Regions from separate parts of the Homo sapiens genome. Here all the other regions are linked to region 1. Evidence: promoter capture Hi-C in 16 types of primary human blood cells and fetal thymus (Javierre and others, 2016). All regions are on one chromosome and are shown on one strand. Each heading gives the region's core, a stretch centred on a gene start or on the middle of the fragment in contact. The rest is flanking DNA. Distances are from core to core; before and after follow the strand shown.

Region 1 (3,578 bases), core at 286-2,785:
TTAAAAGCAGGTGAAATTAATTTTAATAATACATTGTATTTAACCCAATATACCCAAAAATATTGCCATTTAACACATAATATAAAAATTGACATATTTTACATTCTTTTTTCATAGTAAGTCTTAAAAATCCAACGTGCATTTTCATATGTAAAGCACAACAATTCAGATAAGCCCCATTTCAAATGTCTAATAACCACATGTGGCTAGTGGCTACCATACTGGACAGCATTAAAAGAATGATCAACTAAACCTACAGATCTCCATATGCAGCTGCTGGTTTTGGGACCATCTCCTTGACCGGCTTGCCATTGATTTTTGACCGAATTCTGAACTATATATACTACAGTTTGACATTACTGGCAACTCAATAAGGCAATGTCTTCATTTTTTATGTTACATTTGTACACCACTTAGTTTTCACATACGATTTCACACCTGATCCTCATTACAAACACGTGAATACGCAAAAGATTTCACACCTGATCCTCATTACAAACACGTGAATACGCATGTTATATCAGTTTTACAAATGAGGAAAGAACGTTCAGAGAAAAAAAGAGACAACCATTGAGTGTTAGAACTGAGAAAAAAAAAGTAAGTCTCCTGACCTCTGGTCAAATCTATTTACGCCCCAATAATACCACCTCCTTAATCAAAGTTGCACTTCTCTGTGCGACTGGTCTTTATTTCCTCCAGTGATTGTAAACTCCATGAAGAAAAGGACTGTTTTTCCTGACCACTGTATTCCCAGTGCCCAGTAAGGTGTTTTACAAGGAGGCAATATTTATTGAATGAATTAATGACGTTTCTGCTTTTCTCATTTTTAGTCGGTTAAATGTAATTTACTTTTTTAAAGCAACTGATGTGAAGAGCCAAAGTACGCCACCAAATTGGTAGGTTTTTAAAAGTTGAACTTTACTGCCAACATACTTCAAAAGAGAACGAGGGGGAAAGGCTCGGAGCCAAGGCCTGAGTTCTAGTCCTGACCCTGCCATGAACTGGCTGTGAGCCCTCACGTAAATTTTTTTAACTTCTCTGGGCCAGAGTTCTTATCTGTCAAAAGGGAAGAGTAGGGCTATAATCTTCACGATTCCGTGCACAGGTAGGGTTTTTGACATTAACTTGATGTGAGCCGGCTTCCTAACTCCTCACACCCTTCCTCCAGTCCCCTCTGCAACGGCCGACTTGGTGAGAGAGGTAACCACCGGGCCCTCTGGGTTCCCTATCCGCTTCCTAGGGGGGCCGACTCGACACCTAGGTGCAAGGTGGATCCCACGGGCCAGAACCGCCATCTTTCCCCATTGGCCTGACCCCAACCGCCACCCGCGGGCACTGGATGACGCGGACCTTACCTCTCCTCACAGTCTTTGCATTTCACCTGCAACGGGACTAGTTGGTGGAACAGCACTTGGCTCATGTTGGCTCGCTGCCTCGGCTGGTGTGCAGAAAAGCCCAACAGGCCCGGCCCTCGGGATTAGCCTGAGAGGTCCGGGTCCTGATAAAGTTTGAGTTTGGCGCTCGGCTTCTGCGGAGGAGGCGGGGAGGGAGAAACGAGGGGAAGGCGTAAGAGACTTGGCCCTCGCCAGCCACCATCGGATTCTTCCGGTTCTGCGGAGGATAAAGGGAAGACGGTTGTGGTAGTTCCGGGTATTAACCTGTGTGGCGCGGGGGCTGAGGCAGCCATGTTTGTTAAGGGAAGGAGACCCGAAGGAAGCTTCTAACTTTTCTTCTGGTTGCCGGATGCTGGACACCGGAAGCGAGCCCTAGAATTATGGCGACCTCCGCGACGTCGCCGCACGCGCCTGGTTTTCCAGCTGAGGGTAGATGCGGTTACTATGTGGAAAAGAAGAAACGGTTCTGCAGGATGGTGGTGGCCGCAGGGAAAAGATTTTGTGGTGAACACGCTGGAGCCGCGGAGGTGTGGTATCGCCCTACTCTCTCAAGAGTCGGAAATAAGTATCCTGGTCCTGTCGGTGCTGGAACCCGGCCCCTCCCCTCTTTGACAGCTTTCTGCTTGTGTCCCCTGGATTCTCCAGCTTTCACTTTAATAAACCCAGTTTTGCCCTCCTTGCGGAGCGATTATGAGTTCTAGTGATGAGAAATTTTTTATTTTTCTAAGTAAAGCGCCAGCAGTGACCCATTTATTTTGATCTATTTATCTCGATCTTAACTCATGGTAATGCTAGGTTTTAATTTTTACCCCAAGCTACCGCTCCGTCTTCCTGCTGGAAAGTGGTAGTTTAGAAAAAGTAGTGATTGAAGTCCCAAAGGTTTCACTAGTTGTGTTCTAATTGTTATTTCATGAAAGAGAAGCACTTCTCGTGAATGCGGTTGGAAGAAACTTTCTTTTAAAAATTTAGACTTGAGGCCCGGCGCGGTGGCTCACGCCTGTAATCCCAGCACTTTGGGAGGCCGAGGCGGGCGGATCACTTGAGGTCAGGAGCTCGAGACCAGCCTGGCCAACATGATGAAACCCTCTCTCTACTAAAAATAAGAAAATCAGCCGTGGCGCGAGCTACTAAAATTAAGAAAATCGTGGTGGTGCGAGCCTGTAACCCCAGCTACTCGGGAGGCTGAGGCAGGAGAATCGCTTGAACCCAGGAGGTGGAGGTGGCAATAATCCAAGATCACACCACTGCATTCCAGCCTGGGTGACAGCCAGACTGAATCTCAAAAAAGAAAAAAAAATTTTTTTCGACTTACAGTTTTTAAGAATGCAACTTTGCTGGAATGGGAAGGAAAGATTTTTAAATATATACGAATTGACCTTTTACAATTGAGAACAAAGCATACAATTTTGTTTGATAATTATGCATATAAATGTACTATCAAACACTTTATATTTGTATATATGTATATTACTTTAGGATATATATGAGATGGGAAAATAAAAACCAGAGGAGCAAAATGCTCATAGGAAGAGAGCATGTCCTTATAGTTCCACAGAACTATAAAGAATAAACCAAAGCGATCAGCATCAGATTTCATGCTTCTGAATGTTCAGTATTATTTGCATTATTTTATTTCTTAAGGAATTTATTCTTCTAGACAATATCCAGTGCAGATCAGTCCCCTGACCCCCTTCATCTGCCACTCTCCATCATAGTTGTAGTCTACTTCCTATTTTGTTTTGACTGGCATTTACCAAAAGTGAAGCATACTGAAACAAGGACATTCTTGTTTTGGAATATGGGAGACGTGATTTGTTGTGGGAACTCTGAATTATGCCCATAGTCTATTGACTGGTTTTGAGGGGACTGGCAAACATCCCTTGTTGAAGAATGAGAGTTATGATAGGAGAAGGATTTAGACTCCACCTTATCCAGATATATGGAAGGTGAAAACAAATAGTGATGATAGTAGAATATGAATAAATCCTTACAAGCTGATTAGTATTCCTATAGAGGAACGACATATTGTCATTAGACACTTGAAGAGAGACCGCAAAACATCAAGTGGAAACACTTTTATTGACTACTATCTCGTTTTAAATTGTGGCTATCCTCCTGAATCTGTAATTTATGATGTAACTGGATGTTGTGTTTCCATCTTTTTTTCTAAGTGTCATATATAGC
Region 2 (3,578 bases), core at 1,079-3,578, about 15 Mb after region 1:
TTTGTTTCAGAGAAGGTTTTTTTTTTATCATGACAGATGTACCTTTGGGAAATATTCCTGAATCAAATTCTTAAAGGTTCCAAACAAGGTATAGTTATGTTTAATTTCTCAGGAAGACAAACATGCATAGATCATATAAAAAATACTTTCATTTTGGTTTTATGGCAACAGGACTTTTACTTGTATTTTAATGTCATCACACTTGGAGAACTCTCTGGAGTACTGGAAGTGCTCTATACTGTTATCTGGGTGGTAGCTACATGACTATATAGAAACGCAAAAAGCACTGGGCTGTAGACATAAAATTTATGTATTTTACTTATGTAAATTGCTCAATAAATCAAACATTTAAAAATATTTAATTAAAATATTAAACATTTCATGTAAAATATTAAAGCTGTTAAGCTCAAAATAAAGATTTTGCCAAGGGTTAGCAACCAATTTTTTATAGTGGCTACATTAGAGTTAGTTTTCATCAATTAAACACGAGTAGCCAGATGGTAGGGAGGCCAGGTGTTGATTAAAATAATCTCTAAAGTTAGGCATTTCTAAACTGAACAAAATTACAAAACCCTTTATTTATTTATCTATTTATTTATTTTTTGAGACGAAGTCTCGCTCTGTTGCCCAGGCTGGAGGTCTGTGGTGTGATCTCGGCTCACTGCACCCTCTGCCTCTGGTTCAAGCGATTCTCCTGCCTCAGCCTCCTGAGTAGCTGGGATTACAGGTGCCTGCCACCACACCCAGCTAATTTTTGTATTTTTAGTAGAGACGGGGTTTCACCATGTTGATCAGGCTGGTCTTGAACTCCTGACCTTGTGATCCGCCTGCCTCAGCCTCCCAAAGTGCTGGGATTACAGGCGTGAGCCACCGTGTCCGGCAAAACCCTTTATTTAAAGAGCCTTAGGTGCCACTTACTGAAGACAATCTGTACCATGAACTCTCATAATAACAATAGAATCCCTAAGTACTATTACATAGTGCTTTACCATTCATAAATAACTTAAATATATTATTTAACTTTCCATAACATCCCTGTGTGGTAGGCAGGACAAGTTTATGGTAATTTAAAACATGAGGAAAATGAGGTTGGGAGAGATTCAGTTGCTCAATATCACACAACTAAATAAACTGCAAACAGGGACCAAAATCCTAGGCATAAAGACTAAAAATCTCAAGTTCTTGCTACTCCAATCATCTGGTCTCAGCTGCTTCAACTAGCTAATAAATAAATATTGAAGAACACTCATCTCTGAATCCTTTATCTCCATCCTATTATCTCCCATACAATCAGACAGTCTCGCTACTATGGCCTGTGTTTCTCATGTAATAGAGCTGTTATATATGAAGAAACTCATGAATGAACTCAACACTGAGTTTGCAATAGTTTACAGAACTGTTAAAAACTGGACAGGTTTTAGAAACTTCAGCAGCTAATAAAAATGAACTGTTCTCTATAAACACGTTAAGCTTATTGCATAACTGAATGTATACCCAAAATAACTTTTTACTTTCTCTCCTCTTATTCCTTTAATACAGAATATGGGTAAAGATGATCCGACAAGTGAGAGACAGGATCAGGTCAGCGGGCTACCACTGGGCCTCACCTCTATGGTGGGATCATATTCATCTACAAAGTGGTTCTGGATTAGCTGGATTGTCAGTGCGCTTTTCCCAACACCACCTGCTCCAACCACCACCAGTTTGTACTCAGTCATTTCACACCAGCAAGAACCTGTTGGAAACCAGTAATCAGGGTTAATTGGCGAGCCACATCTACAGTACTTTAAAGCTTTCTATAATCAATGGAAATGAAAACCCTAGTGTGACCTTCCATTTGGTTCTTAAAGTGACTAGAGAACGCAAAAACACCGGATTAATATCGGCCTCACACTTCTGGAGTAGTTTTCTAGCAACCCCCATCCTTAGCTATTTTTCAACAGTCCTTGGGCCCCGCCCTCAGCCTAAGCAATGGAAATCCCCCTTCCTATTACTCCCCGAAGGCTTCTCAGCTCTAGCAGGAAGCCTCCAGGCCGCAACTCCTTCCCATTCTCCCTTCTGTCTCCAAAGATCTCCCCACGTAGGCACCAAATGGAAGGACCCCCGCCCAAGGCCTTTGTCTCCAGCTGATAGATTCTGCTCCATTTCTGGCATCAGTGAAACGCCTGAACATTCCACAGCCCAAAGCCGAACACTATGCATGAGATAAACTTACCTCAAGCTCCACTGCCTCTGCTTTGGACAGATTTAGGACCACAGCCGGGAAAAATGTTGGAGACCCCGGAACCGCCATGAACAGCCCCCACCAAGGAGCGGCACTTCCGGCCCCGCCCGCTACGTAATCAGTCGGCGCCCCAGGCGCCTGAGTCCCCGCCCCGGCCACGTGGGCCTCCGAACCACGAGTCATGCGGCAGGCCGCACCCAGACCCGCCCCTCCCACACGGGACGTTTCAATAATGAAAGCGCTAGGTGCTAGTGTCTCAAAAATCAGTAAAACTTTATTCGCTTCCATTCTTTCGCCATTAACAGAAAACTGGAGAAAGCAAAAATGTTTCGTGTTTACAAAGATAAACGGCCTCTTTACCCAGAGATCAAAACCTCAAACGACAAGGGGGAAGATAAAACCGCCCTCCCCCACATCCCCTGAGCTGACCCTTGTCATCTTAGACAAAGCCTTCAGTCCACTGGCCAGGGACCCTGTATATGGCCAATTCAAGAAGAGGGCCAAGAAATCAGACCCATCCATTCCCGTGATATAAAGTTGAACAGAAGCTACACCAAGGGTCAAGTGTCTGTATTTTACAGGACACAGTAACCAGGCGGCTACTTATAAAAAAAAACAAGATTCATTTCAGGCACAACTTTTTTATTTTTTTTTGTTTTGTTTTTAAATCAGTAAAAGAAACCGGGTCCTAGAAGCTGCAGTGATCTAAGCAGCAGCAAGTTTGTGCATTCATTTTTTTTGTTTTTGTTTAAATATGTTTAAATTATCACACTGCTGGCACTCCTCATTTGCATGAAATTCTGCACCATACTTACTAATTGTAGTAAAGTTACCCCCCAACCCACGAAAAAAAACCTACTCTGGAAGAAAATTTTCACTGAAATATAACCAAACTTCTTTAAGTGGATTGTGACAAGATTATAAATGATATGAAAAATAACATTTTAAAATTTGGCCATCAACTTTAAGAAATGGTTTGCCTATACAAATTTTTGTAATTTTTAAAAGATAATATATTCTACCCTCATATGGTCCTCAGAATTAAAGCATAATGAACAGGAAGAAAAAGGAAAAGAATGCAACTGAGTGCTAAGGCAGAACATCTTGCCAGAAGTAATTAATGAAGGTAGAGTATATAATGAAAAGTGCAGAATTTCATAGGGCCAACAAGATAACAGTCTATATTTTTCACTTACACAGGCAAAGTGGATTCTGCAATTACCAGTTGCGTTAAATGCACCAAATAAAGCTCCTAAAATTGATACTATAAGGCGCCACCTTAAGTTTTTCCAGGCTGCAACTGTGCATTATTTAAAATGGTTTTCTTAAATTTATTTATTTTTTTAAACATAAC
Region 3 (3,578 bases), core at 540-3,039, about 11 Mb before region 1:
ATAAGCCGCGCCTCCAGCAGGGGCTGCGCCTCCATGAATCCCTAGTTGTTTTTTTTTTTTTCTTTCTCTCCCCTCTCCTCACCCCCACCCCGAGCCCCGTCCCGCCTTCTCCCTTCGCCAGAGGCGGCCGCGTCCAGGTGCGGAGTCCATACCGGAGCGCAATGGCGTCCAACCCCGAACGGGGGGAGATTCTGCTCACGGAACTGCAGGTAAGGGCCGCGGCCCTGGTGAGAGGCGCTGGCGGAGGAGACAGGGAGAGAGCCCCGCGCGGCGTCGGGGACCGAGGAAAGCCCTGCGGCCGCCGCGCCCCTAGCCCGCTAAGTGCGGAAACTCCGGGATGTCACTCGGGAAATGCTTCCCTCGGGGAACCGCTTCCCTGGGGAGCCGGACCCTCTCCCCCGCCAAAGCCCTGGCCTGCCACCGCTTTGGTTTGATTCTGCCTACCAGAGGGGACCCCATCTCTGCAGCCCTGCTGCAGCGGGAGCCTGCTCTCGCCTGGTCCCCGGAGAGGCCGGCCCGTCGCCCCCTCCCTCGGTGTCAGAGCTACCCGCGAACGCCCCTGTTGCCCCCTCCCTTCGCGCGGCCGGGCCCCGCCCCGCCTTTCCTCCGTACACCGCTCCTTAAACTCCTTTGAATGACTCCCAAGCTGTTTTCTTGTCCCTCCCCCTCCCCTCAGACTCCGCACAAAGAGCGCCCCCATAACTTCCAGCCCCTAGACAAGTTTTTTTAAAAAACGAGTCTCACCAAATGTTTGCTTCACTTCAGCAGCCCTCTTCAGGTGACAGAGTTTCTTTCCTCTATTTTGAGGGTTATCTTTTTCTTTTCTTTTCCTTTCTTTTTTTTTTTTTAACCGAGTGATAAATACAGGGTGCCTTTCTCTGCTACCCCTGCCCAGATCCGGGAGCTCAGATGCTGATGCTTTTCAGACTTTCATTTTCCCTCTCATTTGAGCACCAGAGAAAGAGCTAATAAGTTGTTTACTAATGAGAAAGCAGTCGACTAAGGGAAAACATTGGGCACCACATGTCTGCAAAAGATGAGAGCAAAGTAGATCGCTTAGTTAAGTCATGTCGAGTAGCAATGTTATTTCCCATTTCCAGATAAATATTTGATAATGTAGGCACGATTTTCTTTAGATCTCTATGGTGTACATGGGGACTTAAGCTACCCTGTCGGGTTTTTCATTACTTGGGAGTGTTCCAGAGATGTTTGTTTTTTGACTTAAAAGTTATTTTGCTTTATTTTAATATAGTTATCTTTTAGCTACTCAAAGATTGTAGATGGGAATTAGGAGAAAAAAATAGCATGCCTGCATTTCTTTTTGTGTGTTGGACAGTTAATTTTTTTTAAAAAAAAGACTAAATCAAGAAATTCTGAAGAGTTGATGTCAAAATTAAGTATTGCAACTGCATCTAAATTTCTTGTTTAAATATACTTTTTAAGAAATCTCTTTATAAGTTTGGTTTCTTGTGCAGTCAGACGTAAGCTTGAAAACTTTGGTATAATGGTTGATATTTCCTCCACAAAAATAGAGACTTTAACAATGTATATCAATGCAGTGTTGCACATTTAGAATCCTTTGGTAATGCAAAGCTGAATTTCATATAATTGAAAATGTTGCTATGTAGTATTTTAATTACAGTTAGCCTTTTATAAGCAGATCTTACAGCATACCACATTTGCTAAATGAATGGAATTTACTATTTTATTAATAGTAAATAATTTACATGAGCTTTTAAAATGAAGATGATGTGAGGCAAGTCAGAAATACTTTACATTGCCTGGTCTTGAACCATGAAAAACATACTTTGGTTTTGATTGAGAAAGATGATAGGGTCACTTTTCTTTTGAATTGAGCAGTGTTAGAGTTACAATATATTTGGCATTGGTACTTGTATGTTATAGAAAGTTGGCATAAAAGACACCTACTTTGGCACTGGAACTGAAAATATATTTTCATGTGTATTAATAACATTTAGGATCTTTTAATTAATAAGATCAATTTTGATAATAACAAGGAAGCAAGCAAAGAAGGAAGAAATTTTAAATATGATGACCTAGAAATACGACCAAAATAGAGGAATACCTAAAGTTAAGCTTCTAGATAAACTGAAATATAACCCCTTCCAGAAAAAGAATAGTTTTTATTAAGTGTTACCTTATAGGTTGTCATATATCCAAGTCATTTTCTTGGTTTATTTGACTCCCAGTTTTGATAAAAGTTATTGCATTTAAACTTTATCGTGTTTATTAAAATGTTTGCGACTATTACTTATATCAACACTTAAAGATAAATAGTCATAAAGTTTGCTTCTCCAAATATTTCCATCTATTCAGACTTTTTATTTCATTGGGTCCTGAAACTTAGTGTACAGCAACCAAGTATTTATTAAACTTTTGTTTCAAGATTCACTTTTTTAAAAAGCTTCTAAATTGTTTGAATTTAGACTGAAATACTGTTTAATATGAAGTTCTTAATTCTTCTCTGCCATACAGATTTTAAGTATTTAAGAAGTTTTGTAGCCAGTTTTAAGATGTATTTAATGGTTAAAACTGTTACTTTGCTATGTATCCTGTCTCAGGAATACTTGTTTACTCTGAAAGTTACATATTACAACCTGGCTTTAATAAAATTGATATTTATTTAGAAATATATCCAGCTTTTCATTATTTTTTCAAATTGTAGAATTTGAAATACTCCACTGCTTGAGCTGGAATTGGCTTTTGGTCATGGAAAGGCAAAGTAAGAAAATCTGAAACTACAGTATTCTGTCTTGTTAATTACTGTAATAGCATGGAGTAATGTTTTTAAGTATTGTTAGTAATTCAGGAGGCTTATTCAACAAGGAAGCATTAATAAACTATGTAAACTTTGGTGGCTAGAGGTTTCAAGGTATAAGGAAGAATATTTACTGTAGTAAAAATAAAAATCGGCTGTTTAAAATGGCCAATTTCTAATTTTTATCTCATAACTAATTTGTTGTGTTGTATTCTCTTTTTTTATTTGAAGTATAGCAGAAAACAGACATTTTTGCAATGCCAAAGAAACTAAAGTCTATTTCCAAGAAACCTGGATTAATGAAAACTGTAAAGAATCTCAGAATGAAAGTGTTGGCTACAATGGTAATTTTGTAGAATGCAGACCAAATATTGAGCAGTGTACTAACAAAGCTACCTTGTTGATTATTGGAGATTCATTTTCTTCATCAAAATGCCCAATAAAGTGTTGGTCTGGGAATCTTAAATTCCATTCTCAGCAGATTTTATTTAGATAGAGGTAACTTGCTCAAGTGGAAAGTTGAGATAGTTACCCTTAAATTACAGGGGTTAATTTCACCAAACAGTTATGTAGTATCTACCAAAGCTATATTGGAGGATATAAAGATGACAAGATAGGTTTTTGCTTTCCAGAAGAGAGTATAGATAATTGTACTAGAAGATAATTATAAGAGACTACAAATAACATTTTAAAAATTATTTGCTATATATCAGACATTGTACTTAGTGTCCTATACACCTTATTTGATCTTCACAACAATCCAATAAGGTAGGTGTTATTTCCATGTTGTGGATCAGGA

Evidence for each region. Contacts are between HindIII fragments. The CHiCAGO score rates a contact against its expected background, and 5 or more counts as called.
Region 2: a contact is called between the fragment with the promoter of NRAS here and the fragment with the promoter of SASS6 in region 1, in 1 of 17 cell types (total B cells). The highest score is 5.9, in total B cells.
Region 3: a contact is called between a fragment that was not itself captured here and the fragment with the promoter of SASS6 in region 1, in 1 of 17 cell types (fetal thymus). The highest score is 5.2, in fetal thymus.

The regions. Positions count from the first base shown.
Region 1 is chr1:100,131,395-100,134,972 of GRCh38, forward strand. It overlaps SASS6 (SAS-6 centriolar assembly protein), which reads right to left and starts at 1,536. Exons shown (of 17, transcript NM_194292.3): 1 at 1,356-1,536. The coding sequence starts at 1,420. TRMT13 (tRNA methyltransferase 13) reads left to right here and starts at 1,769. Exons shown (of 11, transcript NM_019083.3): 1 at 1,769-1,921. The coding sequence starts at 1,775. RefSeq lists silencers at 1,158-1,321, 3,459-3,578 and enhancers at 1,317-1,919, 1,324-1,443, 1,454-1,983. The HindIII fragment of the contact is 1,832 bases long and covers 1-1,715 here.
Region 2 is chr1:114,714,443-114,718,020 of GRCh38, forward strand. It overlaps NRAS (NRAS proto-oncogene, GTPase), which reads right to left and starts at 2,329. Exons shown (of 7, transcript NM_002524.5): 1 at 2,216-2,329; 2 at 1,608-1,735. The coding sequence starts at 1,718. It overlaps CSDE1 (cold shock domain containing E1), which reads right to left. Exons shown (of 20, transcript NM_001007553.3): 20 at 2,474-3,578. RefSeq lists enhancers at 2,025-2,124, 2,135-2,334. The HindIII fragment of the contact is 3,751 bases long and covers 1,791-3,578 here.
Region 3 is chr1:88,684,420-88,687,997 of GRCh38, forward strand. PKN2 (protein kinase N2) reads left to right here. Exons shown (of 22, transcript NM_006256.4): 1 at 1-209. The coding sequence starts at 162. It overlaps PKN2-AS1 (PKN2 antisense RNA 1), which reads right to left and starts at 785. Exons shown (of 4, transcript NR_110682.1): 1 at 745-785. RefSeq lists enhancers at 1-18, 49-128. The HindIII fragment of the contact is 611 bases long and covers 1,485-2,095 here.